Regions from separate parts of the Homo sapiens genome. Here all the other regions are linked to region 2. Evidence: promoter capture Hi-C in 16 types of primary human blood cells and fetal thymus (Javierre and others, 2016). All regions are on one chromosome and are shown on one strand. The core of a region is centred on a gene start or on the middle of the fragment in contact, and the rest is flanking DNA. Distances in the headings are between cores, read along the strand shown.

Region 1 (3,736 bases), core at 767-3,266, 490 kb after region 2:
CTACCAAACTAGCCTTGAAAACCCCTTATAATTTTTGTTTTAAACGATTACGTTAATTTTAAAAAATTCAAAGGAAAATAATTTTTTACATTTACCCATGTATTTATTGAAACTGGTGTTCCTCAGACCTTCTGGAGGATCTGACTTCCATCTGATGTCATTTGGCTTCAGCCTGAAGAGCTTTTAGCATTTCTGGAGTGTAGATTTGCTAGGCACATGTTTTTTTAGATTTTCCTTCTTTGAGAGCATGTTTGCTTGTCCTTATTCTTGAAGGATATTTTGCTGGAGTATAAAATTCTCGGTGTTTTCTTTTAGCCCTTTGGAGATGTCATTTTCCTGTCTTCTGGCTTCCGTTATTTCTGCTGAGAAGTCCAGCAGTTGTTTGCATGTTGTTCTCCTGTGTATGATGTGTGCTTTTTCTTCAGCTGCTTTTAATGTTTCCTCTTACCTTTGACTTTCCTCATTTAGACCCTAATGTGCTTGGGATACTTTTCTTTCTGTCAATCCTGCTTTGGGTTCACTTGGGTTTCTTGATTCTTTTTTATTTATTTATTTATTTTTTTGAGATGGAGTCTCACTCTGTCGCCCAGGCTGGAGTGCAGTGGCGCAATCTCAGCTCACTGCAAGCTCCGCCTCCTGGGTTCATGCCATTCTTGGGCCTCAGTCTCCTGAGTAGCTGGGACTACGGGGGCCCGCCACCACGCCCAGCTAATTTTTTGTATTTTAAATAGACATGGGGTTTCACCGTGTTAGCCAGGATGGTCTCGATCTCCTGACCTTGTGATCCGCCCGCCTCGGCCTCCCAGAGTGCTGGGATTATAGGCGTGAGCCACCGCGCCCGGCCTCTTGATTCTTTAATCTCATGTCTTCTACTAAAGTGAGAAAATGTGTCCTCTACTTTTCAAAAATGTTTTTCTCCCCCATTTGTTCCTGTACACCTGTGACTCACATTTCACTATTAGACCCTTTGATGGTATCTCTCAGGTCTCTGAGACTGCATTGATGTCTTTCAGTTTTTTTCTTCTTCTCCCTAAGATTAGATGATTTCTGTTAATGTATCTTCCAAGTTTACTGGCTCCTGTATCATCCCTATTCTGCTGCTAAGTGTACATGTTGCATTTTCCATTTCAGATATTATATTTTTCAGTTATAGAATTTCATATAGTTCTTTTATATTTTATACATTTTAAGTAATTTATATTTGGTTCTCTTAATTTTTCTGATGACATTTACTATTTGTTCATTCATTTCAAATATTCATTCATTCTTTATGCCCTTGAGTGTTATTGTTATCATTTCTGCCTTAACATTCTTGTGTAGTAACTCCAACACCTGAGTTATCTTGGAGTTGGCCTCTGTCATTTGCCTTTACTCTTTTTTTTTCTTTGAGATGGAGTCTCACTCTGTGGCCCAGGCTGGACTGCAGTGGCGCAATCTCGGCTCACTGCAAGCTCCGCCTCCTGGGTTCACACCATTCTCCTGCCTCAGCCTCCCGAGTAGCTGGGACTACAGGCGCCCGCCACCACGCCCGGCTAATTTTTTGTATTTTTAGTAGAGACGGGGTTTCACTGTGTTAGCCAGGATGGTCTCAATCTCCTGACCTCGTGATCCGCCCGCCTCGGCCTCCCAAAGTGCTGGGATTACAGGCGTGAGCCACTGCGCCTGGCCCTGCCTTTACTCTTTATTGTGGGTCACATTTTTCTGGTTTTCCTTTTTTAGAAAAATATAATATCTACAAATTTTAGGGATTATAGCAGGATATTATTGTTAAACATTGTAAAAGCTTGATTCTTTTTGTTCTTTGGAATACTGTTGCTATTTTATCTGTTTTTAGAGGCAGTTAATTTGCCTGAATGTAAACTCCAAACACTTTCCTTATAATAATGGCAAACAGCTGAAATCTCTGCTTATTTCTTTCATTTTCAGTTTCTTTACATTTACTGTAATCACAGTTTCAGAGCTCAGCTGGAGATTTGGAAAGGTCTAACACACAGAACTCAGGTATCAATCTCTGTAGTTCTCTGTTTTTCAGAATTCATCCTGCCAAATTCCATCTGCTGAGGTCTCCACAATCTCTGTCCCTGATTCTTTGTGCCAGTAACACTATTTTCTATGAAAGTTTTATCTGTCTGGCATGGTGATGACTTTGACCTGACCCCAGTAAAGACTGAAAATTGGAAACTCACTCAGAACATCATCTTACAAATGTGGTGGGATTTTTTTTTCTTTACTTTTTAAAAACCAATATGGCAAGCTTGGTCATAATGAAGTTAGTCCTTTAAATTTACTTATATTCATAGTTGAATGGTCATTCTAAAATCTTATAATTTATTTTCTGTTTATTCCATGTGTCTTCTTTACTTTATTTATCCCCACTTTATTGGCACTATAGTTATATATTTTTTATTTCCCTATAGTTTATTATTTGCATAGTTGAAGTATAAAAACCTACCTTAGGCCAGGCACAGTGGCTGACGCCTGTAATTCCAGCACTTTGGGAGGCAAAGGCAGGAGGATTGCCTGAGCCCAGGAATTTGAGAGCAGCCTGGGCAACAAAGTAAGACCCTGTTCTCTACAAAAGATGTTAAGAAAAATAAGCCAAGCATAGTGGTGGGCACCTGTAGTCCCAGCTACTCAGACGACTGAGAAGGAGAATCACCTGAGCCTGGGAGGTTTTGGCTGCAGTGAGCCATGATTGTGCCACTGCACTGCAGCCTGGGTGACAGAGCGAGACCCTGTGGGGGGAAAAAAAACAAAAAACAAAACAAAACAAAACACCTACCTGAAACGAATACTTTTATCACTTCCCAAGCAGTTGAAGGATCTTATGAGTGGTCTGTCGTGCCCCCGCTCGCATTTCCTTTAATGCCATTGTAGTCATATATTTTACTTCTGTGTTCGTTGCAAACACCAGAAGATCACTTTAAACAATCCATACACTCACACTGCCCCTAACAGTTATCCTTTGTGGTGCTCTTCATTCCTTTCATCCTTTCCCCCATGAACATTTTCCTTGAGCTGAAAAATGTGGCTTTAGTATGCCTTGTAAGGCAAGTATGTTGCAGATAAATTTTCTCAACTTTTTAAATAACCACATCTTTATTCCACCTGCATGATTTAAAGCAGCAGTCCCCAACATTTTTTGGCACCAGAGATTACTTTTAATGGCAAAAACCGCAATTACTTTTGAACCAACCTAGTAATTATTACATTGTATTATATACTGAAATAATTATACAGCTCACTATCACGTATAATCAGTGGGAGCCCTGAGCTTGTTTTCCTGCAACTCGATGGTCCCATCTGGGAGTGATGGAGACAGTCACCCCCAAAGTGTGTTGCTTATGTCCGGTGTACTCTGTAATCTCGTTTTGGTTGCTGTCACTGCAGAAAACTCTGCTTCACAAAGACAGGATGTTGGGCATGGAAGCAGGTTTTTCAGTGCGTTTGTGGCAATCTCAGGATATTCCACCTTGACTTTAGTCCAGAACATATGGAGATTTGAAGTTGTCTCAAACACACTTGTAAGGCCACCATTATTTGTGATCTCAAGCAGCCGACCCTCTTCTAGCAAGGACAAAGTCGATTCACCTGGCTTATTCACAAATGGGTCACGGATCCATTCCTTCCCAGTTCGGGGTTCTTTTGTAGTTGGGAAGTAATGCTCAAGCTCTTTTGGAAGCTGAAAGGTGATCATGCACCAGCTGGGGGAAAGAAGGCCCTGGCTCAGTCTCTT
Region 2 (4,210 bases), core at 1,156-3,655:
TATCTCTCTGTTTCTCTTTCTCTGTACTTTCTCTCTCTCTGTCTCTCCCTTTCTCTCTATCTCTGTCTCTCCTTGTCTCTCTTCCTCTGTCTGTCTCTGTCTTTCTCTCTCTCTGGCTCTCCCTGTCTCTTTCTTTGTCTCTTTCTCTGTCTCTATCTCTCTGTTTCTCTCTGTCTCTGTCTATGTCTGTCTCTCTCTTTATCTCTGTCTCTCCCTGTCTCTGTGTCTCTGTCTCTCCCTCTCTCTTTCTCTGTCTTTCTCTTTCTCTCTGTCTCTGTCTCCCCATCTCTCTTTTTCCCTGTTTCTGTCTCTGTGTCTTTCTCTCTCTGTCTCCATCTCTCTCTGTCTCTCTGTCTCTGTCTTTGTCTCTCTCTCTGTCTCTGTCTCTCCCTCTCTCTGTCCCTGTCTTTCTCTGTCTGTCTTTCTCTCTGTCTCTCTCTTTTTTCTCTGTCTCTCTCTCTCTCCCTGTCTCTCTTTGTCTGTCTCTCCCTGTCTCTGTCTCTGCCTTTCTCTCTCTGTCTTTCCCTCTCTCTGTCTCTGTTCCTGTTTCTCTTTCTCTGTCTCTGTCTCTCCTCGTCTCTGTCTCTACCTCTCTCTGTCTTTGTCCCTGTCTCTGTTTCTGTCTTTGTGCCTGTCTCTCTTTCTCTGTCTCTCCTTGTTTCTGTCTCTCCCTGTCTCTCTTTCTCTGTCTCTGTCTTTCTCTCTCTGTCTTCCCAAGTCCCCACCCTTCCCTCCAATCTGCGCTGTGCTCGGAAGCCAGGAGTCCTTAAATGCAAACGTGATCTCTTCCTTCTGGCCTCCCTTTCTGAGTTCCTGTGTCCTAGGGGCAAAGGTCAGGCGCCTAAACTCGCTCATCTCTGAGTGACGCCCCCAGCGCCTTCATCTCCATTACTCAGCGAATGTCGATGAGCCCTGTGCAGGGTGGAGGTGGGGGCGGGGGCGGCTCTGGGTCCTTATCGCCCAGCGGTGCAGACTGAGATAAAGGAACCAGGAGGCTAGGGAGAAAGTCCCATGCCTGCCGGGAAGGCCCCGGCTATGGAAGGAGCCATGTGGGCAGTGGGGGCAGGGGGCCAGCGAGGGCCCCCAGGGAGGTGAGCCCAGAGGCTGAAGGAGGCAACGGGAGGAAGGCCTGGGGAGGCGCAGGGTGTGGCACCGTCCCTGGCCTCAGGAAGGCTGGTCCGGGATTCCAGAGCTTGAGGTCTCCTAGATGGGAGAGACGTGAGGGGAGGCCCAAGTGGGGGCCCAAACGGGCAGCGCCCGACAGAGGATGGCCTCCAACTCCCTGTGCGGAAAACCAGGAGAGAATCCCACTCTGGCTTTGGAGACACAACCCCCAGGATCCTCTCCTGAACTCCCCGCAACGTTCCTCCTGCCCCTCCTGGACCCCGTGGTCAGCCCTGTGGCTTCCCTGCACGGCCTCTTTGCTGGGGAGCAGGAACACCATCTCCTTCGCTGTCCCATGCCCGGCACAGGACTGCCCCCCACAAAGTGCTCCACAGAAGGACAGAAACCGTGCAGTCACCGGGAAGGTGGGGATCTGGGGTGGCTGCAGGTTCCATGACACAGGACCCTCCATCCCCCGTGACCCCAGAGGGCCCTTGGGGACGAGGCTGCCCTAGAGGGTGGCTCTGGGTCCTGAACCTATGGCCGGGAGCTGAACTCCTCCTGCTCGATGTTCTCCAGCTCAGCCAGGGATGGGATCCGGGCATCCAGGCTGGGGTTGGGCAGCGTGAGCTGTTCATTATGAAGTTCATTACGAACCCCAGAATGAAACTGTGGCCCAGGGGGCACAGCCACGGGAACCCCACTCTCAGGTTGATTCAGGCCACATCCCAAGGAGCCGTGGTTCCGTGGGGACTGGTGGGAAGCCGGGCCCCCGAGCAGCCGTCTAGAGCCCAGAGCCAGGCTGGAGGGGTCCAGGGCCTCGCTGTGCTTGGTGTGAGCAGACCAAGAGCTGCCCCAGGGCCCCTGCTCCCGCTGAGTTCCCTCTCCCTGGACTGGGGTGGGGGCCGGGGATGCCTGTGCTCCAGGGAGCTGTGGAGAGGCCCACCCGGCGTCCTGCAGGTGGGGGTGTGCGGCAGCCAGGGGCTCCCAGACCGGGGCAGAGCCAGCATCCTGTTTGCCTTGGTTCTTTCTCCCCGGGGTGCACCGGCGTTTGTACGCATTTGTGTGTGCGTTTGTGCAGGGGGAGGGGTGGCCAGCGCCCACGGAGCAGCCTCCGGTTGCCCGAAGGCAGTGGGTGGCTCTGCTGGCCCCGGGGCCGGGCGTCTCTGCAGATAAGGCATTAACAGTCCCTCCGCAGACGCACCCTGCAGATCTGCTGACGACTGGCTCCGTTCTGCCCAGGTGCCTGGGGCGAGGTGCCAAAGGTTCTCTATAAAGTGCCCGGCTCCCGGCCCACGGCCACTCGCCCTCCAGCTTCTGCCCTGCCTGCTGTGTGCGGAGCCGTCCAGCGACCACCATGGTGAGGCTCGTGCTGCCCAACCCCGGCCTAGACGCCCGGATCCCGTCCCTGGCTGAGCTGGAGACCATCGAGCAGGAGGAGGCCAGCTCCCGGCCGAAGTGGGACAACAAGGCGCAGTACATGCTCACCTGCCTGGGCTTCTGCGTGGGCCTCGGCAACGTGTGGCGCTTCCCCTACCTGTGTCAGAGCCACGGAGGAGGTAGGCTGGCCGGGCGGGGCTGCGGGCGAGGCCGTGGCCAGGGAAGCACAGACACACGCAGAGGCCCTGGGCAGACATCCTCCCCGGACCCTCGGCTCCCCAAGCACGGAGGGGAGAGGAGAAGCCGCAGGGTGTGGGGGGAGCTGGGGCCCCCACGGGCCCCCGTGCCCGGTTCCTAGGCTGCTGGTGAGGAGATGGGCCTGGCCGGCACGACCCCAAGACTTCGTGTGGGGCTCCAGGGAGGGCCCTGTGTTCCAGACTGGCAGTCCTGGAACGTTCTGGCCTGAGGGTGGGGCCGGGGGAAGGGTGTTTCTCCCGGTACAGCCCCTCCTCGGAGGACGCGGGGCTGGGCCCTCCTGGGCATCACCTCTCGTCCCAGCCCCACAGGCGGACACCTGCCAGTGCAGGGAGCAGAGGAGGTAGCTGGGTTGGGGGCAGGTGACCCTAGAGGAGCAGAGTGGGTAGCCGGAGCCTGTGGACTCGGGCCTGGCTCTTGAGCCAGGTGCCCTCAGGCCTGGAGGCCGGGAGCCGCTGTGCCCACCCAACACACAAGCCTGACTGCTCCTCGTTCCTCTGGCTCCTGCGGCCCAGGTAGGCATGGCCGCTGCTGGCACAGAGGTGACATTTGTGTTCCTGCCCAGTGGTCCTGAGCATCTGAGAAGTGGCTCCCAGGCCTGGCAGGGGGCTGTACCTAGGACCCCCACACTTGAACTCAGCCTTGGGCTTGGCGAACCCCAAAGCTGCTGCCCTCATAAACCTGCTGCTTTCTCAGCGGAAGGTCCAGGAGGGCCGGGCACCCTTGGGAAACAGGCTTCCTGCTGCCCTGGGGCAGTTCACGGGGGGGCCGTGAAGGTCTCAGCCTCCGTTTAGAGGAGTCTGCCCTCAGGGGGCCCTGTTCCTTCTCACCATGGAGAGCTGCTGTCTCTCACGCGGGCTTTGTGATGTGAAGGTTTTTAAAGAAAAACAGAAATGGGCTTTTCCTGAATCAGTTTCGCCTCCAGCATTGTCAAGGAGTTGATCACTGCCTTGCGGGGGTGGGCGCTTCATGAGCCTCTGGTCCAGCCTGCACTTTCCACTGGAGGCAGGTCGGGGGACCTTGGCCACTCCGATACTATAGTCCCTGACAGTCCCCAAGTCTCAGCTCACCAAAGCCTCAGGGGACTTCCTGGCCACTGTCCTCGCCCCCTCCCCCAGGGCCCTATCCTGTGGGGAGGATCCCTGCGCTCACCCACACCCTGAGTTTGTTTAGCTTGGAGGAGAAACTGAGTCACAGGCTCACATCCCCACTGGGGATGGAGGGGCAGACACATGCCTCCTGGGAAGAGGAGGGGTTGGGACTGCCTGAGCCTGCCTGGGAAGTTATTTGTCTTTGCACAGAAGGGCAAGTTCTAAGATGCGGGCTTGGGCAGGAATCTGATGGGGCTCCCAGCACCTCAGATAGTCCCCGCTCTGACACCCAGAGACCAGCCGCTGTGCACGGTGGAGCCTGGGAGCGAGCAGCTTTCAAGCAGCGGGTGCTGGCGCTGCACCCTGGGCCATGCTGGGGT
Region 3 (3,690 bases), core at 17-2,516, 270 kb after region 2:
GCCATTACAGTGACTTCCCAAAGTTCACAAGGCTGCCACAGGAAGCACCTCAGCAAAGCACACGCGATGCAATGCCTGCCACCTGCCAAGACCTGCATTTGAGAATACCCCCTAAGCACCAAGGCTGATTCTGGGCTCTAGGAATTTGGTCTGTTTATGGCAACCCATTCATCCTGCAGAAAGAAGGTGAACCCGGAGCTGTGACGTGGAGCTAAACAGCAGCCCGGGCCAGCTGTGGAAGCCAGTCAGCCCCGCGCTGACCATTCTCAGTAACTCCTCACACCCAGAGTCTCCAGGGACATGCTGATGTGAGTGAGCAGGGTGGTGAGAGGCACAGGTGGGGGCTGACAGGGTCTGCACTTCTGATGACGATGGGGACAGTCTGCACGTGGCTGCAGGGTGTGCCCAGGCCACAGGAAAGAACCTCCCAGGTCAGGGCGGGAGGAGGTGAGGAGCACCCTGGACAGGGGGAAGACTCTCTGGTCAGACAGCAGGAGATGAAGGGCAACCAGGAGTGGAGGGAGGACTCCCTGGTCAGAGAGCAGGAGGAGGTTCCAGGAAGAGAGCAGCAGGAGCATCCAGGGGTAGAGGGAGGGCTCCCAGGTTGGAGAGAACAAGAGAAGGTGGGGAGCACACAGGATAGGGGGGAGGACTCTGGCCAGACAGCAAGTGAGAAGCACTCAGGACAGGGGGAGGACTCTGGCCAGAGAGCAGGAGGTGAGGAGCACCCAGAGGCAAAGGAAGGACTCCCTGGCTGGAGAGAGCAAGAGAAGATGAGGAGCACCCAGGAGAGGGGAAGAATTTTGGCCAGAGAGCAGGAGGTGAGGAGCACCCAGGACAGGGGGAGGACTCTGGCCAGGCAGCAGGAGGTGAGGAGCACTCAGGAGCAGAGGGAGGACGCTCTGGTCAGAGAGCAGGAGGAAGTGAGGTGAGGAGCACCCGGGGCAGAAGGACTCCCTGATCAGAGAGCAGGAGATAATGAGCACCCAGGATGGGGGAGGACTCTGGCCAGAGAGCAGGTGAGGAGCACCCAAGGGCAGAGGGAGAACTCTGGTCAGAGCAGGAGGAGGCGAGGTGAGGAGCACCCAGGGGCGGAGGGAGGACTCCCTGTTCAGAGAGCTGGGGGTGAGGAGCACCCAGGGGCAGAGGGAGGACTTTGACCAGTAGTTGCCCCTCTACGCTTGTGTCAACCACAGGCTGTAGGTGCTAGGGGTGAGACGCACACAGGTCCCTGAAGGTCTTCTGAGGGAACTGATAGCTTTCTTTGTGCTACGCCACACCCCTTGCAAGGCATGGGGTACTGGGACTGGGGCTTGGGTGTCTGGCAGGTGGAAATGACTACAAGTCCCTGGCTCTGGGAAGGTCTCGGGCTGGGGGTCTGAGGTCCTGGGTGTAAATGGAGAATACTCCTATCTCATAAGATCATGTGCATCTGAAATTGCAGAAAATAAAAAATTAACTGCACAGTGTCATAAGTTACCTCGGAACGCTGCCTGTGAAACCAGGAATGCTGCCTGTGAAACCAGTATTCACCATTTCACGTTTCAATTCCAACACTGTGGTAAAGCGCCTGAGTGCAAACGCAGCTGCAGATGTGGCACGGACACCAGGAGGGACTCGCATCCGAGACGCTGTTTGCAGCTGCCTCGTAGTAGAGGGCCCGCGGCTGGGGGCCCCTTACGGACACTAGGCAGGACTCGCATCCGAGACACTGTTTCCAGCTGCCCTGTAGCAGAGGGCCCGTGGCTGGGGGCCCCTCTGGTGCGTGTGGGAGAATGCCCTGAGCCACGCACTGTGATCCTTGGTTCACACTCTGCATACTTGCGGGGCAGCCTCCTTCCCCTGTCCTGGGTGCTCCTCATCTTCTCTTGCTCTCTCCAACCAGGGAGTCCTTCCTTTGCCTCTGGGTGCTCCTCTCTCCTCTCTCCTGCTCCTCCTGCTCTCTGGCCAGAGTCCTCCCCCTGTCCTGAGTGCTCCTCACCTGCTCTCTGGCCAGAGAGGCCTCCTGCCAGCCCGGGTTCCACCCAGGACTGCACTGCAGCTGCTCCGTGTTGGTGCAAAACATATATGGTGCTGTCACACGGGACATCTCATGCTGTCACGGGACAGTCATGGCTGAAGGAGCCTTCTACACACACCCTGGCGTATCACCAGCTCCTCCAGGACCACAGTGTAAGTGTCCATGCTGTGACACTAACACCCAGAAAAGACCAGGATTGGCTGACCTGTGGCTCGCCGTGGCAGCCTGTCCCGCCCCTGCGTGCCACCTCGCACCTTCCTAAAACCCCGAGGCTGCCCGCCATGTTCAGGGCCACCTGGTGTGACCGTGGATGCCTCATCAATTACGACGAGGACCTGGGGATGACGTGCGGAGGGCAGAGGGGAGTGGGCGGCTGCACCAGGAGGAAGCCCTCCCACACCCACAGGCTGGCGGGGAGCCTCTAAGCCGATCATAGAGGACGGGCGTGTTATTAGAAACTCTGACGCTGCAAAGAGCAGCTCTGGTGAGCAGGGGACCCTGCAGGGGGTCCCTTGGAGACCCCAGGCTGGGTGTCACAGTTTGATATTGTTAGACTCCGTAATCACACTGAAAAACCCCAAACCACAGGCACATTCATCAGTGAAGGGTAATTTAAACGTCAAATGTGTACGCGTATTTAAAAGCATGGAAGGAAATACCTCAAAATGATAGGGTGGGGTGGTGATGGGTGGTTTTCCTTCTCTGCTTTCAAATTCATGTGAAAATATATTTATATTAGAATGAGAACAATTTATGCTTCAAAAAGCAGGAGGTTTTGCCGACACCCCGCTCCGCAGGCGACAGGCCCTACCTCGTCGAACAGTGAAAACATGTCTTCCAGCAAGTCAGAAACGGGGACTTCCAGGGAGGCGGCAAACTCCGCAATACCTATCTTCTCTCCTCCCTTCATCCTGGCTCTTTCTGAGTATCTGTCCAGATCTTTTTCAAGCTTTTCTGGTTTTAGCCTAGACAAAAAAAGAGGGAAAGCTTTCTTTTTCAATAAAATGGTGGCATGCTAACACCAGATTTACTTCTAAGACTCATCAAAATATTAAAATTGACAGAAGTAGCAGCAAGCTAGTTTTCAAGAAAAGGCATTCTCCTAATTGGAAGGTGCGAGATGTGTTCTGTCCAAGTGTCAAGCCAGGTGCCTGTGCCCCTGAGACCCGTTCCCTTCCCAGGGCAGATGTGGCAGGACACAGGGTGGCCCTCCTGGGGCGCCGTCCACAGACAGCTGATGCCAGCATTAAGGGATTGAAAGACACTATGTGGGCTTAAGTTGATATTTGAAAAAAGCCAGAATAATTAATAATTATCTCCTCAGTTCCCCTCCCTGCAACCCCAGGCAGCCCCCGCCAGACCTCGGCATCACGGGTTCTAGCTAATGCTCAAGGAAGAAGAACCAGGTACTCACCCGAGGCCCCGCACGAGCCTGGCAAATTCTAAAAGGCAAGTGTCAGCGGGGAGACGGAGCTGTCCTTCCGCCAGGGCCAGCTGGCAGTCCTCGAACGTGTAGTCAGTCACGGAGACACCCAAGGCCCTACAAGGAGGGCAGCACCCCCGTCAGCCCAGCCTCGTGGCAGCCAGTTCCCACCGCCCCACCAGAATAACCGCCGATGGCTCAGGGGAGAGGAGGGCTGAGGAGAGGCAGTGAGACAGGGGAAGGGCCA
Region 4 (3,947 bases), core at 1,436-3,935, 350 kb after region 2:
ACGATGCTGGCAGGCAACCAGCTCTCGGCGTGGACTGACACTTCAGCTACTCTGGGAAAAGCAACCTCATTCAAACAAGCCAGAGCCTTAGTAGCAGCCACCCCACTTTCCCGCCGGGCTGGGCCACGATGCTGACCCAGCGACACACAGCTCCCTTGTGTTCCCGCTGGACGCTGGCCCGGCGGCCGTGGCCTATAGAGCAGGCCCCTCGGTGCATGAAGCCAGCACAGCCCTGGAAATCCCGTGCAACAAAAAGCCTCTGTTCCACCCAGAAGAGCTCTGAGCAGAGAGGGCCCCGCCGAGGCCTGCCGCGACGGACTCACAGATGGGCGCCTGGAGAGAGCGGGCTTTCATTAGGTCAGCCCAGGGGTGGGGGGAGCAGACAGCACTGCTGGGCTTGGCTTGGGAAAGAGGCGCCCCGAACCCGGAGGAACTTCCAAGAGTTTACAGGACGCTCAGGAGCCTCCTTCACTCTGCCTTTTCTTCACGTCCTAAAGTGCACGGAGCTGGTCTTTAGTTTCCAGACAGTGAGCATTAGCCCAGGTGGGCTCTCCTCTGCCAAAGAGGGTCCTGAGGACCCCCACGACTTACAGCCCCCACCACTAGAGCCCCCACGACTTGGAGACCCCACGGCTTAGAGCCCCCACCACTAGAGCCCCCACTACTTAGAGCCCCCACGACTTGGAGACCCCAAGTCTTAGAGCTCCCACCACTAGAGCCCTCACCACTTAGAGCCGCCGTGACTTAGAGCCCCCCACTCCTTTGGATTTTGGGGAGTTGCCCCGCCAGCTCCCCGTCTTTGTGGCTCTGTAATCTGAGATGTCCGGATGGTCCTCTGATAGAAAAGCCCAGCCCTGCAGTTTCCTCTGCAGCCCATTGATGGGGGAAGTGGGGTCCTGCAAGGCTCTGGTGGGCCTGCAAGCTGGGCCTGCTGAGCCACAGGGGCTATTCTGATCACCTCCTTCCTCTCTACCCTATTGGTGAGGGGGACCCGCTGCCCTCAATGGCACCAGATGCCTGAGTGCCCAGCACCCAACCCTGGACAGCTGAGAGTGACAGCAGGCCACGGTCACAGGTGCTGATGTGCGGGTGGAAGGCGGCCCACTCCACTCGGGGACAGGGTGGGCTCTCAGGGGCTGCATGGCTTTGCAGTGGCCGCCCACAGGGTGAGGGGACCCTGGCTCTGTGGGGCTTGGGGCAGGGTGTTGGGAGAATCCTGTGGGCTGGCAGGGATCTGAAGCCCAGCGGGCTGAGGACCAGATGGGTGCTGCTGGTCCCGCTGGTGGAGGAACTGGCAGGGTGGGGAGCCTTTCCCCCTGGGGGACACATCCTATGAGGACAGCGGCTCCCAGGAGGCCTCCAGAGGCTGGGAGGCCTTTCAACGCGAGGATCTTACTGGCCACAGGTGCTGCTCAAACGAACGCTCCGAAAGTCTCAGCAGGTGAGAGCGCAAGTCTCAGTGCCGGAAACTGCTGTGCTGGGGGTGAGGAGGGGTGGACCCAAGGGCAGCCAAGGGCTTTGTGGGGGCACCTGGGGCCCAGGGCACAGGAAGAGCCATGCCCCACATCCAGTGCCCCCAGGTGTAACCCTGCTCCTCATGGCCCAAGAGGTTTTACGTGTGGATGGGTTTTAATTGGGTGTCTGGAAGCAGGTAAAGTTGTGTCTGAGCTTGGTAATGAGAGGCAGGGTAAAAGGGAGGGACATCTTGGAGGTGACATGCCTGATGCAAGGTCTTTACCAAACAGAAACTCCACAGGCCTGACCACACCTGACCAGGGCACAGGGCAGCCGAGGGCAAGGGACAGGTCCTGGTTTGGGGCCACTGCATGTCCTTGATCAAGGCATTGGGTGTTCAGCACCTCATCTTCCTTCTCTGCAAGGTGAGCGGCTTGGTCCCCCAAAACTCCAGTGCATTTATGAATTTTAACTGTTCTACAAGGCTACGGCCAACATGGGTGCCTCCGAGGCTCAGCCTGAAGGCAACATGTGGGGAGCCTGGTGGAAACCAGCCGTGTGGCCGAGGGCAGGCGCGTGCCGGGAAGTGCCCCTGTGCTGCGCTCATTAAGTTGTGATGGTGGCTTGTTAGCAGCTTGTTTTACTTCAAGATACTTCACTACATAAAGATTTTCAATTATGAGACAGATTGAATTGAAAACTGACTTTTCTAAAAACAAGGATTATTCCACATTGCAGAAATGATCCTCAGCTTCAAAGCTTTGTTTTTTAATGAGTGCACCCTTTAGGCATTTGGCACGTCTGGGATCCAAACCCTTGTGTTCATCCTGTGGACTCTGCAAAACGCACAGTGCCTCATGTCTCTTTCTGAACCTGGTCTGGTGTGAGCAGTGAGGAGGGAGTGTCTCAGGCTCCCATGGGGCTGAGGATGGGCTCCACGATGTCCCTCAGCCCACAGAGACAGAGACACACCCAGAACCTCCAAGCCACGGGTCTTGTCTGCAGCTGGGCCAGGTGGACTGCACCTGCCAAGGGAGCCTCCAGGGTGGGTGCTGGCTGGCCGGGCGCCCTCCTCACACACGAGGGCGGGCCAACTTGAGTGGAGCCGTGTCTGCATGCAATGCTGTCTCTGCCCCCAGCAGCTGAATGCCACCTGCTGAGCTAATATTTGCTGAACCATCGAGTCATGGATTCCTTCCTGACAACGTTGCTTAAGTGTTTATCCGAGCAAGAGCTTGGGTCAAGGTTGCCCTCGTCTCCCTGCCTCCCTCTGCAAACACCATTCAACTGCCAGCAGTGCCCTTGATGTCCCGTGTCCAGCTCCTCTGAGTGTGGTTTCCTGGCTCATAGTTGCCCAATGTACGGCATTCCTTGTGGTGAACCACAGGGCTGGCCCAGGATTCTTAGATGTCGGAGGAGGCGAAGATGCCACGTCCAGCAGAAAGAGCTGCACAGTGGCGGCCGCGCGTCAGAACGGCAGCTGTGGGGTGGCTGTGGAGCGGGGCGCCGGCGGTGGGTTGTTTACCACGAGCTCTACAACCAGTGGCTGTGTCTGTGTTTTTTCTCTTTAATGGAATGAAGCAAACGCAGGAGTGCCATGTCCCTGCAAGGACACAGTAGGGGTCTGGGTGATTTAGGGCCCTGGTGAATTCACACCCTCCAGGACATGAAGCCCTGTTTTCTGCACCATTTTACTGATGAGAAGCTTGAGGCTGAGAGAGGCCACTGGAGCAATCTGAGGGGAGGCCAGATCAATGCTGAGCCCTGCGGGCCTCACCTTGCAGGCCACAGCCTCCCTTATCATCTCTCCAACCCCAGCCGAGGCCCTAGGTCCACCCCATGTCCGGGTCATGATCCAGGAAGGGGTCAGTGCTGATCTAGAGCCTGGCGACAGAGCCCCTGGCCCGAGGCCTCCAGGAAGGAGTGTATCTCCAGCTTGCTGCCCATTGGCTGAGGACAGCGGGCTGGGGCATGAATCCCACGTGCGCGCAAGTGCCATTTTGCTCTGTGCTCCATGAACACAGGTGCCCCGAGCGCCTCCTGAGTGCCATGTGCAGAGTGGGCGGTGCCAGATGGGGCCCACCGTTGTCCACAGGGCTTGTGGAGGTGCTGCCGTGCCTCCCAGATGCCCTGTCTGGGCCTGTACCCCTTTGCCGAGTTGAGGAGGCTGTGTACCTCTTTGGGAGATGCCTGGGAGGTCACGAGCACAGACTGTGGGTGGCCCAGAGCCAATGACTGACAGTGGCGGGTGCCATGGCCACCCTGGCCTCCCCAGGGCCAGCAGTGGGGTGCGGGTCACTGGCTGACAGGGACCCCCTCCTGACGCCTGGTCCTGCCCTATCCTGCTCGCCTCGCCCCTTACCCTCAGGTTTCTCCTGCAGGAATCCCCATGGGAGTGCTGGCTGCTGAGGGACGGAGCTTCCCTCCTGGTGGGGCTACAGGGTGAGGAGGGCTTCGCATGGCGGCGGCGGCAGAGGGAACGGTGCTGTGAA
Region 5 (4,251 bases), core at 1,610-4,109, 470 kb after region 2:
TTCTGTTCATCGCAATATAAAGATGGCCTTGTGCTCAGGACACATAAGTCACAGGGAAAGTTCAAAAGCTGAGAATGTAGGTGTCTACTTTGGAATTCTATTATCTTAGGTAATATCTAAAAGCAAGACAAATGCTTACAGCAGGCTAGCAGCATGAAAGAAAAGTGAAGCTTCTTAAGGAGAGTTGGGATGATGACATACTGTGGTCAATTTTTAATGCTCTTACAAAGGAAAAGAAGCACAGACAATAAATAGTGCCAAATGCAGTTAGTCACACACGTGTGTGGCTCCCACATGCACATGCACTCACCCCATCAGCTGACCTGCCCACCATCCTGGGAGTCTAGTCTGCAGCTGAAGGCTCATTTGCAAGAGGAAGAGGTTCTGGTGATGGTGACTCAGCTACTTACAGAAAAGTCTTGATCACACATTGAGACATTCATGACACGTTTCCATATTTCCAAATCCATTGTCATCAGGTACATAATTAATTGTAACATTGCTAACTCTGGAAGAAGAAGGAGTTTCCATAATTTATTCATAAGACGAAGTCACCTGTTTGAAGAGCCTTGAGATACTCCATTGAGGGGCTCTCTTTTAAGCATCACTTCTCCTTCCCAAATGTTGGAGGACAAAAGAACTTTCCTTTCCAAATTTGGAAACAGTAGAACTTAATCCTACCTGAATGTGTTCTCCCTTCCTGGGACCAGTGAAAGTACCCAGGTAGAAGCAATAAAGGTTTTCTGGGAAAAGTAGACCCCTTCTGATTCCTGATTCCTGAGAGATGGAAGGCGGGTGGGAATGTGGGTATCATGGGGTGGATAATCGGCTCTTCTGCAACCTTTTGGGACTCCTCCTTGGGCCAGGTTTGGCTCATACATCAGCCCTGTAAGGGGGCCAAGAGAGAATTCTGTGTTTGGCGTGCAGAGATAGAGATGAGGGTGTTTCATCGCCATTGTTCAGTGAATTGCCCAAGCATGGACTGCGTGGTTAGGAAAGATAGAGAAGCTTTGTATTCCTCTGTGACATTGACCAGTAATGTCATAAACCTGAGCTGGAAGAGTTTTCTTGATTTCATGCTTGAGGTACCAGGCACAGCATCTGGCCGCAGCACCAGAAGCACCAGCTCCTGCCCAAACAGGCTCAAGGCCTCATAGGTTGAAGTTGGAGGGCATTTCTGTTTTCATGAGCCAGCCATATGCTGGAGAAACTTAGGGTGGCTGATGGATTTCATTCATGGCGCTTCTCTTAAAGTGATCGCTTGAAAACGGATGGTGCTGTGTCCATGGGAGGCACCCCAGGCCTCCCAAGTGCTGTTGCAGAGCAACTCCCAGAGTCTCGGGCGAGGGGCGTGGCTGCCCTGTGACGGTGGCATCAATCCCCATGTTAAAGCATTAAAAAGGACTCGTACGTATTATCGCCACTAAAAAAACTTGTCACTAAAATTTACTTTATAGTAGTTTTATTCTTATGCTTTCATGTATGAACCGTTGTCAAATGTTGACCCTCTAGTTTTTAAATTTGATTTAATTTTATATTTCCAATGCATGAGGAAGATCACCCGGGCTCTCAACATATTTTTCCTAGTGTACTCCCGTGGCGTGATTGTAAATATTGGGAAGCTCTATGTCTGGGGAAGACAGCCCTGATCTGCAGTGTGCGCTGACTTCCGTGGTGTTAATACCCCCACCCTGGCTCATTTCAAGCTGCTGACATGACGTCTGTGAGCGAGGAGTGGAGATTAGGGGTGTGCGTGGGGTCGCTCAGGGGCAGAGGGGCTGTGCCACCCCCAGCTTCACGGGCAGAGAGCTGCTTAGACTCGGGTGACGTTCAAGCCCCACCCATAACTGCAGGCCCCGGGGACATGTCAACTTTTCTTTTGGTTACAGGGGAGCCTTGTTTTTCCAAAAAAGGACTGACCATAGGAAATCTGACAGCATCAGCACAAGTCAACATTATCCGGGGGTTGAGGGAACAAAGTAGTCGGCCCCACGGGGGTGAGTAAGGAACCATCACTGCCCTTTGCCACGCAGTGTAATTTTTATTAGCTCATTCACCATCACTGAAAAGTAATTTATTTTTTTAAAACAACATAGTAGATTGCAAAGAGTCTGGTGTTTTGGGGTGGTCAGACGCACCAGGATTAAAATTCGGGTTCTGCCATCTAATAGCTGCTTGACCTTGAGAATATGACACGAAATGCCCAGCCCGGAATGCCTGCCTTTCCTGGTGCTGCGAAGGTCATTAATGCGAGCGCCTAGCCCGGGCCTGATGTGCATCCACACTCGGGGAGCCAGCTTGCATCTGCATCTGCCTTCTTCCCCAGGGCCTTGGACAGCTTGCAGAACTCACTCAGAGCACCTAAGAAGGATGTAAATCCCTCCCTTGCCGCCAGGTGCCTGGTGGAGGGGAGTGATGGGTATAGAGGTGTCGGGGAGAGCGCGGGGTGTGGTGCTGAGTGGTCTCTCAGTGGGCTAAGAGCTCAGGGCTGCCCGAGGTGCAGGGACCCCCGGGGCAGGAGGAGTCATAGCCGCTGTGTGTGTGATGTATGCAGTGGGTCTTGAGGTGGGGGTGGCATCCGCCAAACGGGGAGGGAGGGCTACGCTATGATAAAGAGTTCGAGGTTTATTTTTCAGATAAATGTTTGGGATTTGGGGCATATCTTATAAATGTTCACACAGAAACCAACGTGGTTCTCTTTTTTTAAACATTCAAGTATGCGAGAACAAGAAGTTTAGGTGTGAATTCCTCAAATTCTGAGCAAAACATACTGAGATGAGGAAATGGTATTTCACTTTTCTGAGAGGTGTTTTTCATCACTCAGTCACTGTGACATACCGTGGCTTGAGGCGAGCAGCAGGCGGCAGCCCCTGCAAACTTTAAAGGCCGGGGAGGGACACACAAGGCTGGTGAGGGACACGGAAGGCCGGGGAGGGACATGGAGGGCTGGGAAGGGACATGGAAGGTGGTGAGGAGCACGGAAGGCGGTAAGGAGCATGAAGGGCCGGGGAGGAGCATGCAGGCCGATTTGTCCTGTCTTCTGCCACTCCTCGGCCTCCCGTCCTAATCCATCTCCCCACCTGTCCTGACACTTCCGTGCCACCCTCTGGTGACATGCAGGGAAGCCCGTGTGAGTTTCTTGGTCTCAAGCTCGGGTATTCCCAGCAGCTCTTCCTTTTCGCACGCTTGTTTGGCGCCCTCTCACCTTCGGGCGGCCGTCTCATGTCTCTTAGCCTGTGTCCTAAACGTCATCCAACTGTAATCAGAGCAGCTGGAGTGAGTCCAGGCCTCGCCACTGGGAGAACCGAGCAAGACGTTATCTCACCCAGACCTCAGCTTCCTCATCCACAAAAGACAAAGTAAAGTTTCTAACATACAAGGAGTTTGTGGACATCAAAGTTAAAAAATGAATTATGAATTTAACAGAAATATCCCCTTTTATGAAATACTTTTGAACTCTCTAGAGAAATAAAGTCCTTTTTCAATCCCACTCTCACTATATATATATATATATATATGTTTGTTTTTTGAGACAGGGACTTGTTCTGTGGCCTGGGCTGGAGTGCAGTGGTGCAATCACAGCTCACTGCAGCCTCCATCTCCCGGGCTCAAGCAATCCTCCTGCCTCAGCCTCCCAAGTAACTAGTACTACAGGCACATGCCACCATGCCTGACTGGTTTTTTTTTTTTTATTTTTTTTGTAGAGACAGGGTCTCACTAAGGCTCGTCTCGCCCAGGCTGGTCTTGAACTCCTGGGCTCAAGTGATCCTCCCATTTCAGCCTCCCAAATTCTAGGATTACAGATGTGAGCCCCTGTGCCCCGCCCTGTCTCCACTCTCTCTCTCTCTTTTTTTTTTTTTTTTTTTTTTGAGATGGAGTCTCCCTCTGTTGCCCAGGCTGGAGTGCAGTGGCACGATCTCAGCTCACTGCAACCTCTGCCTCCCAGGTTCATGCGATCCTCCTGCCTCAGCACCCCCTAGTAGCTGGGATTACAGGCGTGTGCCAGCATGCTTGGCTAATTTTTGTATTTTTAGTAGAGATGGGGTTTCACCATGTTGGCCAGGCTGGTCTCGAGCTCCTGACCTCAGGTGATCCACCTGCCTTGACCTCCCAAAATGCTGGGATTACAGGCATGAGCCACCGTGCCCAGCCACCTCCACTCTCTTTGTATTCTGAGTAACCTAGAAACACACAGCTTTGTACAACTAAGACTTCCTAAATACAGGCCCTTAAGGAATCCAGAAATTGCAA
Region 6 (3,815 bases), core at 980-3,479, 300 kb before region 2:
TGGATGGGCTCTAGCAGGCCAAGCCCAGGGCTTCATTCAGTCAGTGTGTGGGGAAACAGGTGGATTTGGCATCTGGACTTGTGCTGAAGCATATGGATAAAAGACAATTGTAAGTGGCTATGATCATAAATTTTATAATGTGTTGTTCACCACCAAAAAATGATAGTTTAATGAAAACATATTGTGGGGATTATGTTATACGTCAATGGAAAATAAATGACAACAATACCTTAAAGAAGGATGGGAAGTTAAAGTTTTTTTAAAAGACAATTGTGCGTGATAATGAGACGTAAAGTGTAATTCTTTGACTCCATCCAGTTGTCTGCCAGAAGTTACATGTGACTGGCATTTATTTTGCATCTTTGATTTTAATAAAAATCAAAATTTGAAGAAAAATTTGCAGAATTTATACTTTCCTGTAATCAGAATCATAGTCTTGCCTGGAGCAGCACAATGGGAAGCTCAGGCTTAGGCTCAGGGGAGACTGACTGGGGGTGGCTGTAATTGCTTGCCTTCCTGAAATCAGGTCTTTGTTTAATTCTGTCACAGCTGAATTCCATGGGCTTTGGGACAGCTTGGTATACGATGTGGAAGTCAAATCCCATGTAAGTTGCTGTGCCTTTTCCCAGAATGCCCTGTTATTTGAAGAGGAACCATTACTGTTTTGCTCTCCAACACCCCTGAGCAACTTGATGCAGATGGGTTTTTGGGAGCCCCTGTCTGCTGGCAGCCCTTGTCCTGGACATCTATCCTCTAGTATTGCTCCAGAGTAGAGCTGGTCTCTGAGGAGCTCCCTGAGGGAGAAGAGGGAAAGGGAGAACGTGAAGGCAACTTAGAGAATTAAACCCTCTGGAGATGGGAGGAGGGAAGGTGAGCAAGCCTGGTCCGCACAAAGGAAAGGCCGGTGTGTCTTAACCCCTGCACCCTCTTCAACGGGAAGGGTCTTTCCCATGCCAGCAGCTGGCTAGAAGACTATCACTCAGCTGTCCTCTGCATTGATAGTCTGAGACTATCACTCAGACTGCTCCTCTGCATTGTGGCTGTTGTTATTTTGCGAATAATAACTGCTGTATCATTCTAGGGAAGGAGCTTACTCATTACTTGATAAACAAACCCCTTAGTGGTTTTGTTTAATGTTGGCACTTTAAATAAAAGTGATCATTTTGTTGCTCTTCTTATATTTATAATAGTAATAGCCAGTGTTTTTCCTTTTCCCTTTTGGAAGCACCTTCTCTTCTGAAATGAAAGCGTTTGGAGGTGATGATCTCTTAGGAGGCGGCCTCGCTCCCTGTGCTCCCTCTTCTCATGTAGGATTAAGCCCTGGGGGAGGGCACATTTCTTGGGGACCTTTGCCTTGTTGGTATCTTTGTCAAGCTCTTTTCTTTTTCTCTATCAGCTCCTCGATTATGTGATGACAACTTTACTGTTTTCAGACAAGAACGTCAACAGCAACCTCATCACCTGGAACCGGGTGGTGCTGCTCCACGGTAAATTATGCAGGCTTTTATTTGACCAGATAAGTGGCATGAAATTTAGCCTTTACTTGTACCTTCGTCCTTCTGCAAGGAGTTACGGCTCTTTGTTTTCTGAAGGAGCCACAGCTGTCCTAGAATGTCCCCTCTCTGTGAAGCAGATCCAGCTCATGACACTTGGGACATTTTTTGTTTGTTTGTTTGTTTTTGTTTTTGAGACAGAGTCTCGCTGTCGACCAGGCTGGAGTGCAGTGGCCCGATCTCGGCTCACTGCAACCTCCACTTCCTGGGTTCCTCCCAGGTTCCAGCAACTCTCCTACCTCAGCCTCCCGAGTAGCTGGGATTACAGGCATGCGCCACCACACCCAGCTAAGTTTTGTATTTTTAGTAGAGACGGGGTTTCACCACGTTGACCAGGCTGGTCTCAAACTCCTGACCTCAGGTGATCCGCCCGCCTCAGCCTCCCAAAGTGCTGGGATTACAGGCTTGAGCCACCGCGCGCGGCCCCTGGGGCATTGATTACTCGGCACTTAATCAAGTCTTCCTGTGGGGGGCCACATTCCAAGACATCCTCAGATGCCCCAAACGTGGATAATACTAAACCTTATGTAGACTATTTTTTCCTACAGACATTCCTATGATAAAGCTTAACTTATAAATTAGGCTTGTAGTACTCAGAGCTTTACTTTGTGAGGAGTAAACTGAAAAAGCCATATTTTAAAGAAATTCTGTCTGGTTCTTCTCAGGAGAAAATACTGATGGTTTGTTGTTTGGTTTTGTTTTGTTTTGTTGTCAATATCACCGGGTAGAATGGGGACACGGGAATTGAGTGGACTCGAGAGTATGAAACTGTAGCCAAGTGTTAAATAGAAGCTTGAAGGGTACTTGGCTTCTTTAAGTCAGTTAAGATTGCGTGACAAAGTGACCTTAAAACACAATGTTCTTTTAAAGAGCAGACAGGCCCCGCATACTGCCCTCATAGCACAGTCAGAGTAAGCAGCAGGTGTTTTAATTAGTGAAATAAGTTGTTTCTGTTTGGAACCAGTTACGTATTTCCTCTTTAATTCTTGAAAATACCTGCAGAAAATTAGAGTTGTATGTCTCCATTTTCTGTTAGATGCTTTCCTTTTTCCATATTGGTCACCTCGCAGCTTCTGTGAGGCATCTTTTGTAGGGTCCAGCCCCACAGGGTTGGTGAGTTTTCTCCCCATGTGCAAAGACGAGAGAGTGTAGAAATAAAGACACAAGACAAAGAGATAAAAGACAGCTGGGCCTGGGGGACCACTACCACCAAGACGCGGAGACCGGTAGTGGCCCCGAATGCCAGGCTGCGCTGATATATATTGGATACAAGACAAAGGGGCAGGGTAAGGAGTGTGAGCCATCTCCACTGATAGGTAAGGTCACGTGGGTCACGTGTCCACTGGACAGGGGACCCTTCCCTGCCTGGCAGCTGAGGCAGAGAGAGAGAAGAGAAACAGAGAGACGGCTTACACCATTATTTCTGCATATCAGAGACTTTTAGTACTTTCACTAATTTGCTACTGCTAGCTAAAAGGCAGAGCCAGGTGTACAGGATGGAACATGAAGGCGGACTAGGAGCATGACCACTGAAGCACAGCATCACAGGGAGACAGGCCTCTGGATGACTGCGGGCGGGTCTGACTAATGTCAGGCCCTCCACAAGAGGTGGAGGGGTAGAGTCTTCTCTAAACTCCCCGGGGGAAAGGGAGACTCCCTTTCCCGGTCTGCTAAGTAGCAGGTGTTTTTCCTTGACACTGACGCTACCATTAGACCACGGTCAGCTTGGCAGCGGGCTTCTTCCCAGACGCTGGCATTACTGCTAGACCAAGGAGCCCTCTGGTGGCCCTGTCCAGGCATAACAGAAGGCTCGCACTCTTGTCTTCTAGTCACTTCTCACTATGTCCCCTCAGCTCCTATCTCTGTATGGCCTGGTTTTTCCTAGGTTATGATTGTAGAGCAAGGATTATTATAATATTGGAATAAAGAGTAATTGCTACAAATTAATGATTAATATTCATATATAATCATATCTAAGATCTATATCTAGTATAATTATTCTTATTTTATTTATTTTATTATACTGGAACAGCTCGTGCCCTCGGTCTCTTGCCTCGGCACCTGGGTGGCTTGCCGCCCACATCATGCTAGGGGACGCTTGGCAGGCAGGCGTGCAAGAAGAGTGCTGGCCTCTGCCTCTTCTAGTATGGGGTATGAGCCCACTGAGAATTGTCTTAGGAAAGAGGGTGGTTCTGGGGGCAACAGGAATAACACATGACCCCTCCACCTCCATTTATCAAGAAAGGTGTGTTTGATCTCTGA

Evidence for each region. Contacts are between HindIII fragments. The CHiCAGO score rates a contact against its expected background, and 5 or more counts as called.
Region 1: a contact is called between a fragment that was not itself captured here and the fragment with the promoter of SLC6A19 in region 2, in 1 of 17 cell types (monocytes). The highest score is 7.2, in monocytes.
Region 3: a contact is called between a fragment that was not itself captured here and the fragment with the promoter of SLC6A19 in region 2, in 1 of 17 cell types (naive CD8 T cells). The highest score is 5.5, in naive CD8 T cells.
Region 4: a fragment that was not itself captured here is called in contact with the fragment with the promoter of SLC6A19 in region 2 in 1 of 17 cell types (non-activated CD4 T cells); the score reaches 5.6 in non-activated CD4 T cells.
Region 5: a contact is called between a fragment that was not itself captured here and the fragment with the promoter of SLC6A19 in region 2, in 5 of 17 cell types (naive B cells, monocytes, total CD4 T cells and 2 more). The highest score is 7.6, in naive B cells.
Region 6: a contact is called between a fragment that was not itself captured here and the fragment with the promoter of SLC6A19 in region 2, in 3 of 17 cell types (M1 macrophages, erythroblasts and fetal thymus). The highest score is 6.1, in M1 macrophages.

Annotation. Positions count from the first base shown.
Region 1 is chr5:1,693,948-1,697,683 of GRCh38, forward strand. No RefSeq gene overlaps it. Among named protein-coding and RNA genes, the nearest start is that of MIR4277, 13 kb to the right of the region's middle. The HindIII fragment of the contact is 471 bases long and covers 1,782-2,252 here.
Region 2 is chr5:1,199,190-1,203,399 of GRCh38, forward strand. SLC6A19 (solute carrier family 6 member 19) reads left to right here and starts at 2,406. Exons shown (of 12, transcript NM_001003841.3): 1 at 2,406-2,663. The coding sequence starts at 2,462. The HindIII fragment of the contact is 15,195 bases long and covers 1-4,210 here.
Region 3 is chr5:1,471,126-1,474,815 of GRCh38, forward strand. It overlaps LPCAT1 (lysophosphatidylcholine acyltransferase 1), which reads right to left. Exons shown (of 14, transcript NM_024830.5): 10 at 3,435-3,560; 11 at 2,832-2,985. Among named protein-coding and RNA genes, the nearest start is that of SLC6A3, 28 kb to the left of the region's middle. The HindIII fragment of the contact is 3,401 bases long and covers 1-2,967 here.
Region 4 is chr5:1,552,810-1,556,756 of GRCh38, forward strand. LOC107986397 (a long non-coding RNA gene) reads left to right here. Exons shown (of 2, transcript XR_007059102.1): 2 at 1-3,146. Among named protein-coding and RNA genes, the nearest start is that of LPCAT1, 31 kb to the left of the region's middle. The HindIII fragment of the contact is 946 bases long and covers 2,213-3,158 here.
Region 5 is chr5:1,670,243-1,674,493 of GRCh38, forward strand. No RefSeq gene overlaps it. Among named protein-coding and RNA genes, the nearest start is that of MIR4277, 36 kb to the right of the region's middle. The HindIII fragment of the contact is 3,707 bases long and covers 1,007-4,251 here.
Region 6 is chr5:899,945-903,759 of GRCh38, forward strand. TRIP13 (thyroid hormone receptor interactor 13) reads left to right here. Exons shown (of 13, transcript NM_004237.4): 4 at 550-605; 5 at 1,397-1,487. Among named protein-coding and RNA genes, the nearest start is that of TRIP13, 9.0 kb to the left of the region's middle. RefSeq lists a silencer at 3,150-3,444. The HindIII fragment of the contact is 227 bases long and covers 2,117-2,343 here.